3 separate regions of the Homo sapiens genome follow, and regions 1 and 3 are each linked to region 2. The links are contacts of gene promoters, found by promoter capture Hi-C in human tissues and cell types (Jung and others, 2019). All regions are on one chromosome and are shown on one strand. The core of a region is centred on a gene start or on the middle of the fragment in contact, and the rest is flanking DNA. Distances in the headings are between cores, read along the strand shown. Region 1 overlaps HM13 (histocompatibility minor 13). Region 2 holds the start of BCL2L1 (BCL2 like 1). Region 3 overlaps XKR7 (XK related 7).

Evidence for each region. The method cuts DNA at HindIII sites, captures the fragments that hold promoters and counts their contacts. A contact is called where the count stands out against the background at its distance.
Region 1: a fragment that was not itself captured here is called in contact with the fragment with the promoter of BCL2L1 in region 2 in 1 of the 25 tissues and cell types used here (spleen).
Region 3: a contact is called between a fragment that was not itself captured here and the fragment with the promoter of BCL2L1 in region 2, in 2 of the 25 tissues and cell types used here (dorsolateral prefrontal cortex and spleen).

What each region holds. Positions count from the first base shown.
Region 1 is chr20:31,533,173-31,536,029 of GRCh38, forward strand. All of the region lies in intron 2 of HM13 (histocompatibility minor 13), which reads left to right. Among named protein-coding and RNA genes, the nearest start is that of MCTS2, 13 kb to the right of the region's middle. The HindIII fragment of the contact is 6,554 bases long and covers 1-2,857 here.
Region 2 is chr20:31,721,249-31,724,206 of GRCh38, forward strand. It overlaps BCL2L1 (BCL2 like 1), which reads right to left and starts at 1,620. Exons shown (of 3, transcript NM_138578.3): 1 at 1,370-1,620; 2 at 407-1,100. The coding sequence starts at 970. RefSeq lists enhancers at 1,239-1,994, 1,929-1,988, 1,995-2,749, 2,519-2,718 and silencers at 1,359-1,478, 1,529-1,638, 1,538-1,832, 2,039-2,488. The HindIII fragment of the contact is 4,180 bases long and covers 107-2,958 here.
Region 3 is chr20:31,970,522-31,973,291 of GRCh38, forward strand. The region is part of intron 1 of XKR7 (XK related 7); the gene reads left to right. Among named protein-coding and RNA genes, the nearest start is that of XKR7, 3.8 kb to the left of the region's middle. RefSeq lists enhancers at 1,555-2,056, 2,057-2,556 and a silencer at 1,645-1,939. The HindIII fragment of the contact is 4,685 bases long and covers 1-2,770 here.

The sequences.
Region 1 (2,857 bases), core at 259-2,758, 190 kb before region 2:
TTGGGGCACTGGAGTTTGTAACTGCATTGAACATTTTTAAAACTTCAGGGCTGAGTGTAGTGGCTCACGCCTGTAATCCCAACGCTTTGGGAGGCCGAGGCGGGCAGATCACCTGAGGTCAGGAGATCAAGACCAGCCTAGCCAACATGGTAAAACCCCGTCTCTACTAAAAATACAAAAAAGTTAACCGAGCGTGGTGGCCCATGCCTGTAGTCCCAGCTACTTGGGAGGCTGAGGCAGGAGAATCGCTTGAACCCAGGAGGCAGAGGTTGTGGTGAGCCGAGAACATGCCACTGCACTCCAGCCTGGGTGACAGAGTGAGACTTCGTCTCAAAAAAAACAACAACAAAAAAACTTCATATTTTCCTGATGCCTCAACATCCCACAAATAGGCCATGAACACTTTGCCCAGGTGAACAGGTGCCAGTGTGATAAGGCTGGTCCCTGCGACAAGTTCCCTTTCTTGCCCTCCTCTACTCTGACCTAGTGACATTCAGACACATCAGTGAGATCCCCTTTTGCTTGTGTCTTTCACCCTGAGCCCCAAAGAAGGCACTTGGCCGTGGGTCTCCTTCTGTAGGACCTGTGAGTATAATAAATCCTTTCATTTCATATGCCTCTCTCTCAAGGACTTTCACACTGAGTTTAGAATGATCCCATCCTCATCACCAATTGTGTTGTAAAAAAGATGTTCCCCTTGTGAGGTTTTTTTGTCCTTGTTTTTACAGGCAGGGTCTTACTCTTTCACCCAGGCTGGAGTGCAGTGGTGCGATTGTAGTTCACAATAACTTTAAACTCCCAGGCTCAGTTAATCTTCCCACCTCAGCCCCCTGGGTAGCTGGGACTACAGGCATGCACCACCACGCCCGCCTAATTTTTTTTTATTTTGTAGAGATGGGGTCTTGCCATGTTGCCTATGCTTCTTGAACTCCTGGCCTCATGCAATCCTCCCGCCTTGGCCTCCTAAAGTGCTGGGATTACAGGCGCAAGCCACTGCACCCAGCCCACTTTATGAAGTCTTTAAGGATCACTCGCACACAGCCACAGAAACTATGCTCAGAGAGGCTTATGAAATTACAGGATTTACTATACTCACATGTTCTAGAGAAGGAGGCATGCATGCCACACAGGGGGCCATATGGGAGGAGCTCCAAGGAAGCCACTCAACCAAGCAGGTAGGGAGAAGGGGGAGAGGACAGAAGGAAGGAAGGAGAGGGGAGGACCCCTGGGCAAGTGCCTTTGTTAGGGCTCAGGGTAGTACAAGCAAAGGGCATGAGGGGATTTACCATGTGTTTGAATGGTATTAGGTCATAGAAGAAGAAGACCAGAGGCTGGGCACCGTGGCTCACGCCTGTAATCCCAGCACTTTGGGAGGCCAAGGCAGCAGATCGTTTGAGCCCAGGAGTTAAAGATCAGCCTGGCCAACATGGTGAAACCCTGTCTCTACAAAAAATACAAAAATTAGCCAGGCGTGGTGGCACACACCTGTAGTCCCAACTACTTGGGGGCTGAGGCAGGAGGATCACTTGAACCCTGGAGGTCGAGGCTGCAGTGAGCCAAAATCAGGCCACTGCACTCCAGCCTAGGCAACAAAGTGAGACCCTGTTTCGAAAGAAAAAAAAGAAGAAATGGGCCGGGTGCAGTGGCTCACGCCTGTAATCCCAGCACTTTGGGAGGCCGAGGCGGGCAGATCACGTGGTCAGGAGATCGAGACCATCCTGGTAACATGGTGATACCCCGTCTCTACTAAACAAAATACAAAAATTAGCCGGGCGTGGTGGCAGGCGCCTGTAGTCCCAGCTACTCAGGAGGCTGAGGCAGGAGAGTGGCGTGAACCCGGGAGGCACAGTTTTCAGTGAGCCAAGATCGTGCCACTGCACTCCAGCCTTGGTGACAGAGCAAGACTCCGTCTCAAAAAAAAAAAAAGAAGAAGAGGAGGGCCAGAAGGAGAACCTGGGCAGAATGTTCATATCCTATTTGTGGGGATGTTGAGGCATCTGTAAAGTAAGTTTTTAAAATAAGTTTTAAATTTGCACAATATAGTAATATTTCACAAAATCATAGTATTTACTTTATCCCACCTTATTTAAAATTGATTCCTTTGAGGCAACTCAAAAAATTAAATCCAACAGCATAAGAAAAACAGAAGAAATAGAGTTAAAGGAGAAAATTAAAATAAGATAAAACAAGGCTTGGGTGAGGACCACACCCATACCCCATGCTCTAAAGCCTGTACTCTTGCTAGAAATGGGCTTAGTTGTGGCTCTGGCTTTTTAGCAGCCAAAACACAAAGGAAAGTGAGACCTGGTGCCCAATCCACATGGGTCACAGTGAAACCAACAAGAAGCTCAGAGGTGTGGCCTGAGAGTGATTTGTCCCAAGGGCTCAGACTGAAAGAATGCAATGTGAGAGGTATGCCACATCTTCATAAATAAAGCACAATCCATATGCCTACAAAGTCTGCTCATAGGTCTTTTTCTTGTAGCACTAACATGGACCACCAATTTGCCCTTCCATTCAGTCATTCTGCATTTATTGAGAGCCTGCTACATCAGGCCCTGGCTGGGTACTGGGGATACTGAAGTGAGAAAAACAGCTGACCATCCCTGTCCTCAAGAAGCATCTTGTTAAGTGGTAGAGACAGACACCAATCACACAGATAGATGTGAAGTTACAGCTGTACAAAGTGCTGTTAAGGCGAGGTCCATAGCACCAGGAAAGCATGGAAGAACCAGCTCAGGGTGAACCTACACCCAAGGTGAACTGCCCAAGCCCCTTATCCACAACAGCACCTGCATTGACCTAGCTCAGCCGAAACTCCAGGAGTCATCCTTCTCCCTGTCCCCCCAAGCCCTTG
Region 2 (2,958 bases), core at 370-2,869:
CATTGATGCTCATCATCTTCTCCAGGCATTATACTCATCACCCCTTTGTGTGTGAACCATTGTATAAGGTAAGGGAAACACCGAACTAACTTCCTACCCTCACAGGTTTGGGACTTAATGAACACATAGGCTACAGTTTTCTTTGCTGAGAAACTGGAACACAAGTATGGAATAGTGGAGTCATGGGGGTGACCAGGGTGAAAGATGCCTGATCTCTGAAGCACAGGGTCATTTGTATTTCCAAGGAGTTAACCTCTTGTGGTGAAATGAGGCCAGTCAGGTTTCCTCAACTATCAACGTCTCCAACAATCACCCAACACAACAGAAAGAGATACAGAAGAAGGGCTGTTGGGGATCTCTGACCAGAGGCCAAAGAAAAGGGACACACAAGGGGCTTGGTTCTTACCCAGCCGCCGTTCTCCTGGATCCAAGGCTCTAGGTGGTCATTCAGGTAAGTGGCCATCCAAGCTGCGATCCGACTCACCAATACCTGCATCTCCTTGTCTACGCTTTCCACGCACAGTGCCCCGCCGAAGGAGAAAAAGGCCACAATGCGACCCCAGTTTACCCCATCCCGGAAGAGTTCATTCACTACCTGTTCAAAGCTCTGATATGCTGTCCCTGGGGTGATGTGGAGCTGGGATGTCAGGTCACTGAATGCCCGCCGGTACCGCAGTTCAAACTCGTCGCCTGCCTCCCTCAGCGCTTGCTTTACTGCTGCCATGGGGATCACCTCCCGGGCATCCAAACTGCTGCTGTGGCCAGTGGCTCCATTCACCGCGGGGCTGTCTGCCAGGTGCCAGGATGGGTTGCCATTGATGGCACTGGGGGTCTCCATCTCCGATTCAGTCCCTTCTGGGGCCTCAGTCCTGTTCTCTTCCACATCACTAAACTGACTCCAGCTGTATCCTTTCTGGGAAAGCTTGTAGGAGAGAAAGTCAACCACCAGCTCCCGGTTGCTCTGAGACATTTTTATAATAGGGATGGGCTCAACCAGTCCATTGTCCAAAACACCTGCTCACTCACTGAGTCTCGTCTCTGGTTAGTGATTCTCTTCTAAGATCCAAAGCCAAGATAAGATTCTGAAGGGAGAGAAAGAGCTTCAGGAAAAAAAAATAATTAATATGCATGCCATTTACCCTAAAAATTCCATTCCCCCTCCAGGTACCAGAACTGGTTTCTTTGTGGGTCTTACGAAGGTCTGGGTCTAGGTTCCAAGATACTTCACTTAAGTCAAATCGAAAGCACCAGTGGACTCTGAATCTCCCACCAGCCTTTTCTACCCCCGTCTTCTCCGAAATGCCTTCCTCGGAAAGTCACTCCCTGGGCAGTCCCCCCCGCCCCACTCCCGCTCCCCCGCACCACCTACATTCAAATCCGCCTTAGGCAAAGGCAGGCAGGTGCAGCCCCCGGAAGATCTTTTGTATCACAGGTCGGGAGAGGAGGTGGCTGCGGGGATGCCGGTAACTCAGCCGGCCTCGCGGTGGCTGGCAAAAAAACCAGCTCCGGCCGGAGGGATCATGCGACCCGGCAGGCTGGGAGCCCAGAAGGCGACACAGGAATTGCGAAGCTCAGGAACCAGCCCCCTCGCTTGCTTCCTCCTCCATCGCCCGGATCGAGGGCGGCCGCTCCGCAGCCGCGGCCTCCTGCCACCCGGGAGCCCAGCCCCCTCTCTCTTGCACGCCCCTTGGCTCTCCGCCTCCTACTGGGAGCCAGGAGTACTCTCCCGGAGGTGGCTGGTATGGATTTAGTTGGTTTTTGTTTTTCTTTTTTCTATTTAAGCACCAGCCCAGGGTGAGGTGGAGGCGTCCGAAACCCTAAAGGGACTTCTCAATGGGGTTCAAGGTTTCAGTGAGGGACGCAGGGAGGGGGAAACTGCCTCAGATCTGCAATCTGACTTTGGGAAGGCCACCCCCAGGCCTGTCTGTGATGTTGAAGGCCGGAGACCCCCAACAAATGCCGCTGGTTTGCTCTGAATTCCCCAAAGGCCCAGAACGTGGCAGTTGGGGATTGCCGGGTCCTCCATTCCCCGCCCGGACACAATGGCCGCCGGCGCCCTGCACAAAGACTGGGTGAGGGTGAGGCGCTGGGCCTCTCCTCAGGTCAGGAAGAGGGGTCGAGGCCTGCTCGACGGCCCCACAGCTGAGACCACGTTTTCCTGGGGACAGGCCCAAAGTGGCTTTCTGGCGCCCCCGGGAGGGCTCCGGGGCCGGGGGCTGCACCTCTCCGGAGCCCAGGGTGGGCCGGCTGCGGCCTAGCGGCTTCTCGAGCTCACTAGGCCGGGTACCCGCCGAGCCACCGCCCCGTTGCTAGGCAACCGCCCTCCCCCGGGGGCGCCCCCTAGACCTTCCTGAGAGGAGGGGCCTCGCCCCCGGCGGTCCGCCCCAGCGCAGCCAATCAGCGAGCCCAGCCGGCACGGAAGCGGGACGGCGAAGGCTCCTATTGGGCGCAACGGCTGTCACGCACAGGGGAGGCGGCGCTCTCACCTGCGAGCCCCGCGAGCCGTGGGGGGCCACATCCCCCTTCATCGGCCCGGTAGCTTCCAGACGCAAGAGCTCTTCGCGGCCGAGTTCCGCGCCGCGGACCCGGGCCGGCCTACCTGGCTGCCGGCCTACCTGGCTGACTGCTCGCGCCGTCTCTCCCGAACAAGCCGGCCTCAGTTTCCCCTGAAGAGACAGGGGAACTTGCAAGCTCAGTCACTTCCGGTGCCGCGGCAACGCGCGCGAGCCCGAGACGCAAAGGGAGTGCGCGCCTTGAGTGACTGGCATCAGGACCGGGGAGAGATCGCCCCCTCGCGGTAGATCTGGGGAATCGGGAGGCGCAAAAAATCAACATTTATAATCACATTTCCATTTATTCATTCAGTCAGTCAGTCAGTCACTCATCAGTCAATCAGCCTATTTCATCCGTCCGTCAGTTTATATATAGAAGAAGCATCGCCTTGTGGTTAAGCACTTT
Region 3 (2,770 bases), core at 242-2,741, 250 kb after region 2:
GCAAAATGAGGAGGCTGGGATGAGATAAGTTTGTAGGGATAACAATCTAATAGCTCTTAGGTTGAATGTGGCTTGTGGAAGTGTTTTGTGTGGCTTGCATAGTATTTTAAAAACCCAGAGTCGTAGCTTCCCTTTAAAAAAATTGGATCTAGCAGTATCAATCCTGTAACAATTTAGAAAGAGTCTATGTGCTCTAATTTGTCCATCTTTCCCTTTGATCATATCTGTACTATTTCACTTAGACATGAAAGCCCTAATTTACAGTTCTATAACAATTATTTTATTAAACACTGACTTTGTGCCAAGCCTACTGGTTGCCTTTTTACCTGCTTTATTTCCTGTACCCCTTCTAATCATCCTGTCATGTGGTTAGCATTATAATTTCTACTTGACAGATGAGGGAATGGAGGCTCAGAGAGGGGGCATCCTTGTCCAAGGTCACACAGCTAGGAACTTGAAGAGCTGAGACTCCAGGCTCTCTGCCTTTAAAGCCTGAGTTCAATTTATCCACCTTGTAATTCTGCCACTAAAGTGTCCCTCAAGCTTAAAGAAGTATGAATCTGAGATTCCAAGATTCCAGTATGATAGAAAGTCAGGGCTTCTGTTGCACTGAGATAAGAATGTGAAAAGAGGGGCAGGGAGTTGAACTATGTGGGTGAGGACGGGAACAGTGTGTATTGTGGGGAAAAGGCTGGATTCGGGGGTGGTCTGGTCAGGAGGCTGACATCTTTATCCTAGTTTGTAACTATAGTTTGCTGGGTGACCTTGGGCAAGGCTCTTTCCATCTTTGGGTCTCGGTTTCCCTGTGTGTGAAATGAGATTCAATGTGATGACCTTAAGAGTTTCCCATTCCTGAAATTCTGACTCTGGGTCTATTGCCAAAGCAAAAGCCTCTGGGCCCTTGCCCCCAAAATCTTTGGATTCTAAAATGGCTAAGGGCCTGGATAAATGGAGGGAAAACCCAGAGAAGGTATAGAGAAGCTGCAGGGGCTGGCATTCCTAGAAATTAAGCAATGTTGGCCCAGCACATTTGCTTACCACGTGAGATGTTCCCACAGATGTTCTGAGTGGTGGGGCCTGGGGTAATGAAGAGGGAGATGTGTGATTGAGTCCTCCAGAATCACACCTGGGAGGCTAGGCAGTCACTCACCTCCTGATCCCATTTCCTCAATTCTGAATAAAATAATTATAATCATGAAGATATTTTTCAACCTCTTAGACTTGTAAAATCCTGAATTAAAAATTCAAATGCTTTGAGGACCCAGGCAGGTAACAGACCATAAGACCATAAGATACAAGGGGTGTCAGACAAGAGGACATTCAGGGGCAAGTAGTGTCCGAGGAAAAGGGAAGCTCCAGCTGATCATGCCATGAGAAATCGTGGACCCAGTCTTGATTTCTCAAGAGAAATGGGAAATTGGGATTTTTCCGTGAACTCTCCAAAATTTAACTACTAATTAAAATGTTTAAAAATAGTGTCAACCAAAGGAAACATATTTATTAGCCTGTCTTCTTTGTAACCTCTGGTTTAGCTCTTCAAATTGATAAGGTCTTTTCACACAGAAGATTTTATTACTAATTTAAACATAAAATGAAGCTCTGAAGAGAGAGAGGAGGAGAAAGCATACACAGACACTGCACACCTACCGTGTCCCCACAGGCCCTGTGTGAGTGTTTCAGGCATGTGATCTCATGTTACTCTGAAACCCTCCCCCCTGGTGACTATTGATATACCCATTTATCAGATAAGGAACCTTGTCCAAAAGTCACCCACTGAGGAAGTGAGGAAAGGTGATCAGTCCCAAACCTAGCTCTATCTTTTACACCACACACTGGCTACTTTGGGACATGCCAGAACAATATCTTTGTGCACAGAGAGATTGAACTCTGAGGGAACAGCAAACAGATCCTCTGGCGGGGCACGAAGCTGGCTGTGGCCTGGACACCAACCTGCAACTTCATCCCTCCCTTCCCTTTAAACTCTCTGAGCTGTTAAACTGCCCAGGGTTCTTAAGCTAATTAAAGTCCTAACCCTGTCCCCTCTGACCCTGTAGGCAGCAGAGCAGTAAGCCATGAATCCTGCTTTTCCTAATCTTGAGCTCAGTGGGCCCCAGCTTCACCCAGATAAGCATGGTTTGCTAAGCCAATTAGTGGGAGACGATCTGACATGGGATTCCTGCCAGGCTTTCGGGATCTGGGAACCCCAAAATGGGGAGAAAATTAGGCAATTGGGATTTAGGGGCCCTCCCTCTAATGCCCTCTCTATGCATAGGCCCAGACACTGCACTCTATGTCACCTAAGAAGCCCTGCATGACAGAGAAGTTCTGGAATGAGTTAGTGACCTATTGGAAGGAAATGTCAGGCTCTGGATTTCCCCTCTGGGAAACTACATTCTTGGCATAACGGTTGAGAGGGTTGAGAGCACGGACTCTAGATTCAAGTGTCCTCAGTTTAAATCCAGACTTTACTACTTCTTATATGTGACCTTGACAAGGCAAATAATCTCTCATCCGTTGTAAACTAGGGACCAAAATTGTACCCACCCGCCTCTTAGGTTGTTTCAAGGTTTAATGAGATAATGTGTAAGGGTTCAGCAAAGGGCTCATTCCATCGTTAAATGCTCAGAAACTGCTGGCAATGATTAGTGCATTAGCTTGGGCTTTGCTCCCTGTGGAACAAAGCTTTGTTCACGGAGCACATGGCAGGACAGCAAGGGGGTCCTGAAGTCCCTTGAAGCCATAATGACATGGCAGTCATTCATTTAATCTG